3 separate regions of the Homo sapiens genome follow, and all the other regions are linked to region 3. The links are contacts of gene promoters, found by promoter capture Hi-C in blood cells and fetal thymus (Javierre and others, 2016). All regions are on one chromosome and are shown on one strand. The core of a region is centred on a gene start or on the middle of the fragment in contact, and the rest is flanking DNA. Distances in the headings are between cores, read along the strand shown.

Region 1 (4,093 bases), core at 755-3,254, 2.1 Mb after region 3:
ATAGTGACCAATCTAAACCTTTTTTTTTTTTTTTTTGAGATGGAGTCTCGCTCTGTCGCCCAGGCTGGAGTGCAGTAGCGTGATCTCGGCTCATTGCAATCTCTGCCTCCCGGGTTTAAGCGATTCTCCTGCCTCAGTCTCCCAAGTAACTGAGACTACAGGCACGTGCCTCCACGCCCGGCTAATTTTTTGTGTTTTTAGTAGAGACAGGGTTTCACCATGTTAGCCAGGATGGTCTCAATCTCCTGACCTTGTGTTCTGCCCACCTTGGCCTCCCAAAGCGCTGGGATTACAGGCATGAGCCACCATGCCTGGCCCCCATCTAAATCTTTATCAAACCTGCATAATATCATCAACAACCAGAAGCTATAAAGGACTAAAACCTGTAGTGGAAAGCACATTATTAGACTCCCTAAATCTCTATCAGTCCCTGTAACATTCTCATCCTCCCAGCCAAAAAACTGTAATGGGTGTGTATAATTGTTCGGGACTTAAGAGCCATAAAAAGAAAAATTTCCCACTTTCCTATAGTACCAAACCTAGATACTATTTTATCTTTGGTGCCTCAGGAGGCTACATATTTTAGATCCATGTTCTTACATGCTTTCTTTAATGTTCCTTTACTCAAAATAGCCAATAGTTGTTTGCCTTCTTCTAGAAAAATCTAAAGTACTGTTTATGTGGGATGTTCCCAAGAGTTCCCTCCTACTTTTCACAAGTCCCCAATCAAGACCTCAAAGACTAAATTTCCCTGTGATTCTACTTTTATCTAATATTTGGGTAACTTTCTGTTGTCTGCTAAAGATAAGGCAGGCTCTAAGATCCTTTCTTTCTACTTCCACTCAGAAAGGGCATAAAGTTTCCAAGAGAAGTTGTTACAATTCTGTCAAAGTAAAATGCATTACCTAGCATGTGATTTATTCCGAGGAAGTAAATCCCTCACTCCTCACTACCAGCCCTAAAAATTACCATTAAATTTCCCAGATCATCAAGTCTCATTATTCTTCCCCTATAACTTTCCAATGGTTTATGTTTTTCCTCTGTGTTCTACAATATTTTTCTACTTGATCTTTCAAGTCACTAATTCAGATTCAATAGCAGTGATGCTTTCTGTCATTTACTGAATAAACTGTTCTGTTGGGAAGTCTTGTCTTTTAACTCCAGAAAGAATTGTGCTGCAATTCAATCTAAGTGATTATCTCCTTTGACTACTCTAATCCTCAGGGTTCTGTCATTTTCCTTGTTCTTCCTCAGTGTTGCCTGTGATTTTTTTCTTTTTCAGCACTAGAACTCAGCTGTTTGCCAGAGCATACTAAGCGACAGCAGAACCACAAAAAGGTGTAACATTCTCTGTCTCTGTGAGACAGTGGTGGATATTGTCCTCAACTTTTCATTCTCTCCTTACAGAATTATACATGCAATGTCCTCTATCATGTGCAGAGCCTTCATTATGAAGAGTACACTTCCCAGTCTCAAAGGTGTTAGGTTTGGCCATGTTACCTGCTTTGGCCAAAAGAATGTGCTTAGAAATAAGTGTCCTCTGTGAATGAAGATAGTTGTCAGGTTAGCTCCAGGGGTGTGGGTGTTTTTCTTTATTTTATTTTTTTTTTTTTGAGAAGGGAGCTGGTTTTATTTTAATTTTATGGGCTCCTTTCTCCCGTTTTTTGGTGATCTAACTGCATTGGTTAAAAGCAGCTAAGCAGTTCTTTAGAATACGCTCTCTAACCAAATCTAACTTTATTTAGACAATGTAGATGGACAAGCTTGACTGTTTGAACTAAAATGGGAACATTAAACAAATATCACAGCCCTCACTAACAACATTGTGACTTTGCTGTCAAGTGTAGATTCCCCTCTTCAAAAAATCTTGTGACCATTTCGTATGGCTTATCTGGAAACTTCTGTAAATCTTACGTTTTAGTAAAATATTTTTTGTTATTCTAAAAAAAAAATGTGCTAGTTCTTAGCTAAGACTTTAAGAGACATAATATGCATGTTTCTGCTCATCCTGTTGCATTTCTGCTGTCGTGAGAACAACCTGCCCCACAGTGGTCCTGGTCTCAAAATGAAGAAACATGGAACAGACCTCAAGCTAGTCCCATAGCCTGAGCTTCCCAGCTAATCCTTAGATCCATGAATGAGAAAAATACACGTTTATTTTGAAAGCAACTGAGATTTTGAGAATGCCATACAGCATTCTGGCAGGAAAAATAAAAGCCTCACCAGTATGACAAATATAAGCTTGTAGTAAAGCAGCAAAGCAGGCTACTAACACCCCAGTGAAGCACTGGAACAGACACCTCCCCTCTCTGAAATATTCCTTGCATTTTTCTAGCACCATGGATAAAAGGATCCCACTCACCATTTTCACTTTATTTCCAGCCCATGGAGGCCTGTGAGACCAGGCAAATGTTGATTGACAGGAAATTCTCAGATTTCTAAGGGCAGCCCTCTCCCCAGGAGTATCCCCATTTCAACCTTTGCCTCCAGGGCTTTTTTATGCTGGTTTCTGGTTCTCCAACAGTCTTTAAGATAAAAAAAATCCTACAAGTGCTATGTCACTGGAGTGAAAAGAACCTAAGGCCCCTCTCCCATATGGATTACCTAAAGCCTCACCCCAGCAGTTACTTGGCTCTAGAGAGAAAGATAGACTAGAATTGGGAGTAAAATGTACAGAATGATCCATTCAGAAGGTCATCACATTCCCAGAATTAATCTCTATAAAATATTTATCAAATTAAGATATTATAGTGTTTCACAAGTAAGATGGTATGTTTCTGTAAATACATTTCTTCCTAAAATCAAAATGAGATAAAGGGAGGAAAAACTGGGTACATACACAGAAAAAAAGACAACTCTTATCTGCAACTTACTTTATGGTATACAATGTTATTGGATGATAGAGAATTATATCTAAGACTTACAAAATCAGGTTTTAAATATTTAAGTTAGTTTGCAAATGAACCTATTTTACCTCACTTAAGACTGATTCTCAGTCTGAAAGGCTCCATTAAGATTAAGAAGTCTGCAAGTAACAAATATCAAATTGGCTACAGTCGAGTAGCTCAAGTATATACCTCTGAAGGTTCAATATTGTCTCAACTTACCATTTTCAAGAGGTGCATCCTCAGGCAGATCCACATCAAGCATAAGATCATCATCCTCAAGGTCACATGATTCAAGATTATTCAAAATATCCTGTGAACAAAAGCAGTAAAAAATATACCATAATCTAGCTCTAAGGATATGTCAACCATTATTTTTTAAAATCGAACTATATGATATCCTGAATTCACTCATTATCTGCACTGAAAGAATAAAATAGGTTTTCAAGTTTTTTAAAAATAAAAATAGATTCAACTAGTTTAATTAAGCTATTTCTAACATCCTTCTCCTAGTCTTCCTCCTAGTCTTTCCTCCCCAATAGATTTTTATTTTCATATTAAAAAACTTTTAAGTCCATGTTTTTAACATCTTCCCTGGTAAAATACTGAAGAATCAAAAATAGTAAAGAATTGCCCAAAATTTATTCATAATTGGTATAAGAGGTGAGAGGCTGTTCTATTATTTCCAGGGATTGGACCACTTACATAAATAATAAAATAAGTCTTTAACAATGTGGTTATTCCATTTCCTTTCTTGTGCCAAACCCATCTCCTGTTACCATTAAGCACTCTGTCACCTCCTTGGCTTGACTCAATTTGTTCTTTTTCTATGATAAGACTAGACTATTCAACCTAGCATATGCAGTCCCTGCTGGCTTTTATTTGCAACCTTACTAGCTATTATCTCTTCTTAAAAAAGTAGTGTTTTATTTTCAAAGACTGTTGTTCTGAAGCCTAAAGAACTGAATAAACAAAAACTAAGGTTAAGGTAATAAACTCAGTTTGACCTATAGCCCACTGGTGCGTCCTTACAATCCAAGAATGAATCCAAATATCATAAGACCTTTCCTTAGTATATACAAGTAAAAAGATCAAAAGTCCAACAAACTTTTAAAAGACTGAGACATCATGGTCATAAAAAACTCTTTTTTTTTTGAGACGGAGTCTCGCTGTCACCCAGGCTGGAGTGCAATGGCGCGATCTCGGCT
Region 2 (3,782 bases), core at 569-3,068, 2.1 Mb after region 3:
TGTTAGACCAAAATGTGCTCTTGACTCACAACAAAGATTTCCTTTTGAGTGTTGTGATTTTTAGGCCATTATTTTCTTTTTATCATGGTCTTTTATATACAAACTAAGTAATAATTAAATTCAAGACACCATACATATTGTTTTCATATGAGACTAATATGTGAAATTGCACAATTATTAGATTATGAAGATTCAAACATGACTCTGATGGATCATTCAATAGCATCCATAGGAAATAAACATTTTCTTGGAGTACCCTTCAATCTGATAGTGATGCAGCTACCTAAATCTGAATACCCAGGCTAATTCTGCTCACAGAGAGAGAAAATACCCTGTTCTCAACTCACAAGTACTTGTTTCTTTAAATATATCTGAAGAAAAGCCATTTACCCTTGTATCAACAAAATGAATGTAAATTGGTAAATTTTAAATACCCAAAACTGAGGTCGCTGAATCAATGAAGAATTTTCCAAACCAAATACTTAATATTTAGATTAAAAGTTAAATCACATACTTTTATTACAGTGCATATAATCTAAAAATAATATAAAAGTGCAACTTTGAGAGCCAAAAATAAAGCTAAACTCTACTTCTGGCTCAGAGTTTTATGAAAAACACATTTCACCCAGTTTGAAAAGTCTCTATACATTATACTACAATACTTACAAGCTGAAGTTCTAATAGTTGGATCTTTTCATCTTTTTTCTTTATTTCGTCTTTAAGTTGTTTTATTTCATTTAATAAATCTTCATTCTGAAATATTAAAAAATCTTTAGATGAGGTATTTAAAATACCATAATGAGAGGCATGAAATCAATGATGAAGACACAGTAATGAACAAACTATCTGGTCATTTAGGGGGGAAATCCTCTATTAAAAAAAAATCTAAGATTTCATCCGGTAATGAAGTGTGACATGTTGACAATGAGCAATAGTAGCAGCAACAGTTAGCATTCATTGAGAACTTATTAGATGTTAAAAACTAAGCACTTGCACTTATTTAAGCATTTGATTCTACCCACACTCCTGAGGTAGGTACTGTAATCCTTTTTTACATATAAGAAAACTGGGACATAGGCCACAGAGTAAAAAAAAAAAAAAAAAAAAAAAATCACATACAAAAAAGCAACTTCAGCTAGACTTCAAGGGATACATAAGAGTAGCCTGTGAAAGAAAACAAAGGGCATGAGAAGCAGAGGCAATAGAATAATTAAAGGCACAGAGGCATTTCATGGCTGGTTTACAAATCAGCAAAAAAGATAAATGTGCCTGAAGGGTAACAAGGAAGATTCTTTGACCATGAGCCACTTTTTGAGGAGTACCTCCTGAATCAAAGAGAGAACACCTTCTCAATTGGATCTATAAGAAATGCCTAGTACTATTAAATGGAAACCTACTGTCAAGTTAAGCAGGAATCCAGTTACATTTCCAAAGTGTTAATCATTACCCTATAGTTAGCCCATGTTGTTTGTGTTTCATTATTCAGTTATCCAAAAGAGAAGGTAATATAAGCAAGGAAATTCAAATATAGATGTGAATAACATCTTTCCAGAGAGAAAAACAAGTAAGCAAATAATTAGGATGTGTTGTAACTAAGCAAAGAATGTCATCCCCTTTAGCTACATCGGGAACAAAAACATATATTCTCTTTAACAAAGAGATCAGAAATAGACATTTTACAAAGCCTTGAACATATCACATAAGCATCCCAAACAATGTGGAAGATTTTTAAAATGCTATTATGTACACTATAATTGAAAAAGACTTTATTACATACAAAAGATAATCTCCACTTGTTTTTAAGTTTAGGAATTATAAAAATTCATAAAGACAAAAAAGATGGATTGCAGATCATGAAAGATACATTTCTAAGAATACATTTAGAAGGACACATTTCTAAGTTATGTAGCAAATATAGCTATTCAAAAGAAATGATTTATATTTAATTATATAACATTTTAAGGCACCTTAACAATTAACATTAGTTAAAAGCTATTGATAATCCATGCAAATATGACAGAGGATTTATATCTCAAGTATATTAACAGCCTGTCTAAACATTTAAGATCATTTTTAAGGCCTCAACAGACAAGTAGCCAGTTCTCACAAATATACATATAACTGGTAAAATGTTGTATTTAACTTGTTGAATAAAGTATTGTTTTATAAATATTAAGTTAGTGGTGAAATACCCAATGTAATTAACCAGACTGCAGGAAAAAATGGCACACCATCAGACATAGCAGTTAACCTTTTTGGACAAATATACATCTGTATGTTTAAGAGCCATCAAAATACCTGCACTCTGATTCAGTTATCCTACTCCTAGGAATCTATATGAAAGAAATGATCCTTAGAAAGAGAAAACCTATAACAAGGTGTTATCTGAAAGTTAACAAGTTTACAATTGTCCTGTAAGAGGACAACGGGAATAAAATGTAGCAACTTCATGGAACACTATATAGCCATCATTCATGCAGTCACCAGTAGGTTCGGACTGTGTTACACAGGAAATGGACCCAAAAATGAAATCAACAAATAATGTGCTAAGAACATTAATAGCCAGCATGTATATAGCACTTGCTGTATGGCAGGCACTGCTCTAAGGATTTTTTTCCCCCACCAAAACCATTTCATTGTTTTAATTTTACTTTTAATTGACAGATAACATTGTACATATTCATGGTTTACACAGTAATGTTTTGACACATATAATTTATAGTGATTAGATCAGGGCAATTAGCATTTCCATCATCTCAAACATTTATCATCTCTTTGCATTGGGAACACTGATTTTATATATAAAGATAGGCAAAGAAGTGACATCACACATCAGAAATGAGGGACTACAGTGGAGTTCCAAAGGATAAGCACAAGATTCAGAAGATAGAGGAGTGTGGTAGGCTTGGAATTTTAGTTAAAGGATTCTAAGTGCCATACAATATAATACAAAGGTGAGGGAAAGCATAGCACGTCTGGAGAAGTATAAGCAGTGTCGCTGTTGCACATAGGTTCTGATTAATGTTGAGAAGCAATTGGCTAGTAAACTATGCAAGGGCCAGATCACAGAGAGCCATGACTATCACGCATGGCCTTAGCTAGGGAGTGACAGATTTGCATTTGAGATGGCTTTGACAGGTGTTTAGAGGACAAATTTTAACAACAGCAAGAAAACTGAGCTAGGCACTTATGAAAATATTATAATAATCTAGATAAGAGTAGGAGCCTGACCCAAGAGAGTGATAATATAGATGAAAAGGGAGAGAAGAAATCAAAATTTTGAGATTTTTGGCAATTCACTGCATGTGAGAAAAGAACAGAGGAGCATTCAAGGGTGACACTGTATTTCTAGCTTGAGTGACATGGTGAATAGCTGCGCCAACAAAAGAAATGGTGAATACAGAAGAACAACAAGTATGTCCAAAGAGGAATATGTGTGAATTTTAAATATATTGTTACACAGGTGGGTGGGCAGTAGGGGGGAGGTGGGGACATGATGGAGCCAGAAGAGATCTTGAGGTTTCTTCAGTTCAGTATGTCAAAGTACTGTATGTTGGGGTATTGGTTTCTGAGCTCAACAGTTATCAGTTTTTTCATTAAATAAATAAAATGTTTAAGACATCTCACATACAAATACACACACACACACACATACACACACATATGTGGGGGGTGAGAGAGAGAGAGTCTGTGTTAGAAGTACTTATGGGTGGGACATACAATAGAAGTGTGTCCAGTGGGCAACTGGATTACCAAGCATGAAAGAAAGGAGTTTTACATGT
Region 3 (3,801 bases), core at 266-2,765:
GTGCATCCCACCCACAGTGGAAGACATGGACTTGTTTTTCATATAAACTACAGAAGAAGTTGATTTATTTTGAAACAAGAAAAAGTACTGATTCAGTATTTAGGAAATTGTAAATGTCAGAATATAAATTCTGCAGTCAGGTAGGCAAAACAATCCAACCACACTAAAATCCACCTTAAATTCCTCTTGGGAAGAGCTGCAGGGTCTCTGAACTATTTTTCCTTTATTTGGAGTTTCCCCGATTATACCGGAGGGAGCTGGATAACTTCTGGGTGCATTAAAAGCAAATTATCCATTTGTGGGAGAAGGGCGGGCTTCTCACTGAAAGCAATTAGTAGTTTTCTAATTTCCCAGGTGGGTCTCCATTAACCGCCTAACAAACACCAAGGCTGTCGGAGTCCGACGAATCATGCACCTCTCTTAGGGGGAACTGGTTGCGCTACTCTTTAGAACGCTGTTTTCCCATGGTAGCCTTAAAAAAAACTTACCAATTTTCTGAATTAGGTAACACATTGAATGGGAAAAACCTAAGATAGCACAAAAAGGCGTACAGCGAAAAATTAAGACTCCTTCCTCCCGTCATCCGCCACCTCACTGTCCTCCCTAGAGGCAATCGCTGGTTCACTTCTTTAAACTTTTTATTATGGAAAATTTCAGATACACAAGTAAAGAGACTGTATGATGAGCACATATGCTCGCATCACGCAGCTTCAACGATGAAAAACGTTCTGCCAGCTTGTTTTATTCCTCTCCCCCAGTTTTCATAGGCGTATTTTACAGTCCTGACACCAGATCACTCTGTCAACACATCAGTAGGTCTTAAAAAAAAAAAAACAAAAAACCATAACCACATTACCGTTACCACACCCAACAAAGTTAATGATAATTGCTCAATACCATCCAATATTCTCGGGGCCACTTTCAATCGGTGAGGGGCAGACGGACTTAGAGGAAGGACTGCAGGGCTGGAGGGGCGCGAAAAAGCGAGGGGCGACGCTGCTCGTGGCCTCGGGTGTCCGGCGCCTCGCGGTCCCCGCCATCGTCACCTACGCCGGGCCAGGACCGACCAGGCCAGGTCGAGGGCGGCTCTTGACCACGCGCCCCCTGCCTCCCAGCTCCCGGGCGGCGGCCTCCGCAGGCCCGGCACAGCTGCACAGCCCGCGGTCCCCAGGCACCGGCGGGTCCCTGGAGGGGAAGCGATTGATACAGCTGCCTGCACTGCGCCACCCGCCCGGCTGCCCATCTCCGTGGCACCTGCGTCTCCCGGCTGGGCCGGGAGCTAGAAGTGGCTGCCGAGACCGGGAGGGCCCGGCCAGTCGCCCGCTCCCGCTCCCGCGCCTGGTCCTCGGCCCGCGACCTCGCGGACCTGGACTACAACTCCCGTCGGGCTCCGCGGCCGGGCCAATGGCGGGCGCCGGAGCATGCGGGGCGCAGCGCCTGCGCGGCGGTTTGAGTAAGCGGCTGCGCGATTGGCTGCGGGGTCGGGCGGCCGCGCGGGGACTGTGGGAAGCGGAGTGACGGAGCGAGCGGCTGTTGGAGGAAGGAGGTGGGGGCCGGGAGCGCAAATGGCGTTGAGATGGTTCAGGGCCCTGTTCAAACTCCAGCACTGACCATTCACCGGCGGAAGCGGCGGCGCAGGAGGCGGCGGCGGCCCAGCGGGGGCACACAGCAGGCTCTGTTACCAGCTCCAGCAGTGGCGGCCAGCGAGAGCTAGGCCTGGGCCCGGCCGGCGGCGCTCGAGGCGGGGAGGGAAGTTGCGGGGCCGCCGCTCCTGCCCCCCCAACCGGGCTTCCTATTTACCGAAAGCAGAGTCCCTCGCCTCTCTCGGCTCTCACCTGCCGGCCCTGCTCTCCCGCGCGAGGGTTCCGCGCCCGCCCGCGGGCCGTAGGGAGCGGGAGAGGCGGAGGCGGCCCGTGGCCAAAGCACCCGCCAGGCTCCGAGGGTAAGTGAGGTGTCGGGCGGCCGCCTAGGCCGGGAGGGAGCCGGGAGGGTGGGGGAGGCAGAGGCTGGGAGCGGGCGGTGGAAGTCTCACTGCCTCGCCCACCGGGCCGCTGAGGAAGTTGGGCAGGGGAATGACCTGAGGAACTCTTTTTTTCCCCTTTTATTTTCCTTTTTCGGAGTTCTTTTTCGGGCGACTGCTGATTGACTTAGCTCCCCAAACCCAGTCAAGTGTGTTGATTTCAGCCCCGAGTCCTTTCCCGTGGTTTCATCCGCCTCTGGCCGCCACTGGGGCCTTGCACTGCCTTAAGGATTCGGTGGCAGAGGCTTCCGGGGCGTCGAAAGTGACCTCCCTTTCCTGGGCGGCGCGGGTTGGGAGGAGAAAAGTTGCATTGAGTGTCTAGTCCGAGGGGTCCATCGCGCCCACTGCCCGTGGCGCCCCGGCTGTCCCCAGGTGAGGATTTCTGGTTAGTCAGGTTCGTCCCGTCCGCTTTCCATCTTTAATGGAAGCCCTTAAAGCCTTTGGGGATCGGGAAGACGCTAGATTAGGGTGGGAGTGAAGTATAAAGGCTTTTTGCTTTTTTTTTTTTTTTTTTTTTTTTAAATCACAGCGCACTTCTCTCAAAATTCGACCTGATTTTGGGCTAGGGCAAAAGCCGAACGACCGAAAAGACTTAGTCGTCAATCATTCTTTCCTTTTTAGTTAGGACAGTCTTTGGAGTTTAAAGGTTGAGCAAGATTGTGTACTTGAAACACTTAAAATTTAACTTCAAGGACGTCTGCACACTTATTTTGGAATCTGTAGTGCTTTACGCTTAGATAATGCCATTGCAAAGACATTTTATTGTGGGAAACGATAAAGGCAATCAGGAGGAGATATTATATAATGAACTTCTCTGTACCCATCGCTTGGATTTAGCAGTGACTATTAAACAAATTTATTTCATCTATACACTTCTCATTCCTTAATGTTGGAAAATCGCTGACGTTATTTCATCAGTATTTCACTATGTATTTGTAAAAGACGTGGTCTTTTGGCACAAAATTATTATTATCATTATTATTATTATTTTGAGACGGAGTTTCGCCCTTGTTGCCCAGGCTGGAGTGCAGTGGCGCGATCTCAGCTCACCGCAACCTCCGCCTCCCAGGTTCAATTGATTCTCCTGCCCCAGCCTCCGGAGTAGCTGGGATTACAGGCATGCGCCACCACGCCCGGCTAATTTTCTATTTTTAGTAGAAACGTGGTTTCTCCATGTTGGTCAGGCTGGTCTCGAACTCCTGGCCTCAGGTGATCTGCCCGTCTTGGCTTCCCAGAGTGCTGGAATTACAGGCGTGACCTGCCGCCCCCAGCCAGCACAAAATTATTTTTTATCACATAAAATAATTAAGTCCTTAGTGTCAGGTATTCATCTGAAGACTTCAAACTTTCAACAGTGAATGCTTTGTGGTTATAGAACCATTTTAACAGTTTTTCTGATGTTGGCATAAAGGAACTCAAGTCTAGATTTTTGGTTTGGCCTTTGGTTAGTATTTTTAGATGATTAGCACATAAGTGAATCCAAAACATTCCATCTTTGTTGGTGTGTATGTGTACGTACACTTACAGACCTGCAGGATCTCAGCTTTACATTCTTGAAGGAACAGAGAATCGATTTTTATTTTGTTGTCCGTGGTAGTTGCCCAGTATCCTGTTTTGTTTAGGCTGTACTTAACAAGAAAGACAGTAAGACTTGTTAGTGTTAGAGCTGCAGTGGAAGATGAAATACATCTCCTTCAGGAACACTGTTTTCTCTTAACGCAGATATGTATGATGACTAAATTATTACCTTGTCAAATTAAAATTGGGTTCTCACCAAACAT

The links. Contacts are between HindIII fragments. The CHiCAGO score rates a contact against its expected background, and 5 or more counts as called.
Region 1: a fragment that was not itself captured here is called in contact with the fragment with the promoter of WAPL in region 3 in 1 of 17 cell types (total CD4 T cells); the score reaches 5.2 in total CD4 T cells.
Region 2: a contact is called between a fragment that was not itself captured here and the fragment with the promoter of WAPL in region 3, in 1 of 17 cell types (naive CD8 T cells). The highest score is 7.7, in naive CD8 T cells.

What each region holds. Positions count from the first base shown.
Region 1 is chr10:84,416,876-84,420,968 of GRCh38, reverse strand. CCSER2 (coiled-coil serine rich protein 2) reads right to left here. Exons shown (of 10, transcript NM_001284240.2): 4 at 3,108-3,198. Among named protein-coding and RNA genes, the nearest start is that of CCSER2, 90 kb to the right of the region's middle. The HindIII fragment of the contact is 478 bases long and covers 1,766-2,243 here.
Region 2 is chr10:84,467,343-84,471,124 of GRCh38, reverse strand. CCSER2 (coiled-coil serine rich protein 2) reads right to left here. Exons shown (of 10, transcript NM_001284240.2): 8 at 667-753. Among named protein-coding and RNA genes, the nearest start is that of CCSER2, 140 kb to the right of the region's middle. The HindIII fragment of the contact is 4,261 bases long and covers 1-3,782 here.
Region 3 is chr10:86,519,506-86,523,306 of GRCh38, reverse strand. It overlaps WAPL (WAPL cohesin release factor), which reads left to right and starts at 1,515. Exons shown (of 19, transcript NM_015045.5): 1 at 1,515-1,942. It overlaps WAPL-DT (WAPL divergent transcript), which reads right to left and starts at 1,360. Exons shown (of 2, transcript NR_186498.1): 1 at 898-1,360; 2 at 1-798. RefSeq lists silencers at 902-1,461, 1,602-2,021. The HindIII fragment of the contact is 16,574 bases long and covers 1-3,801 here.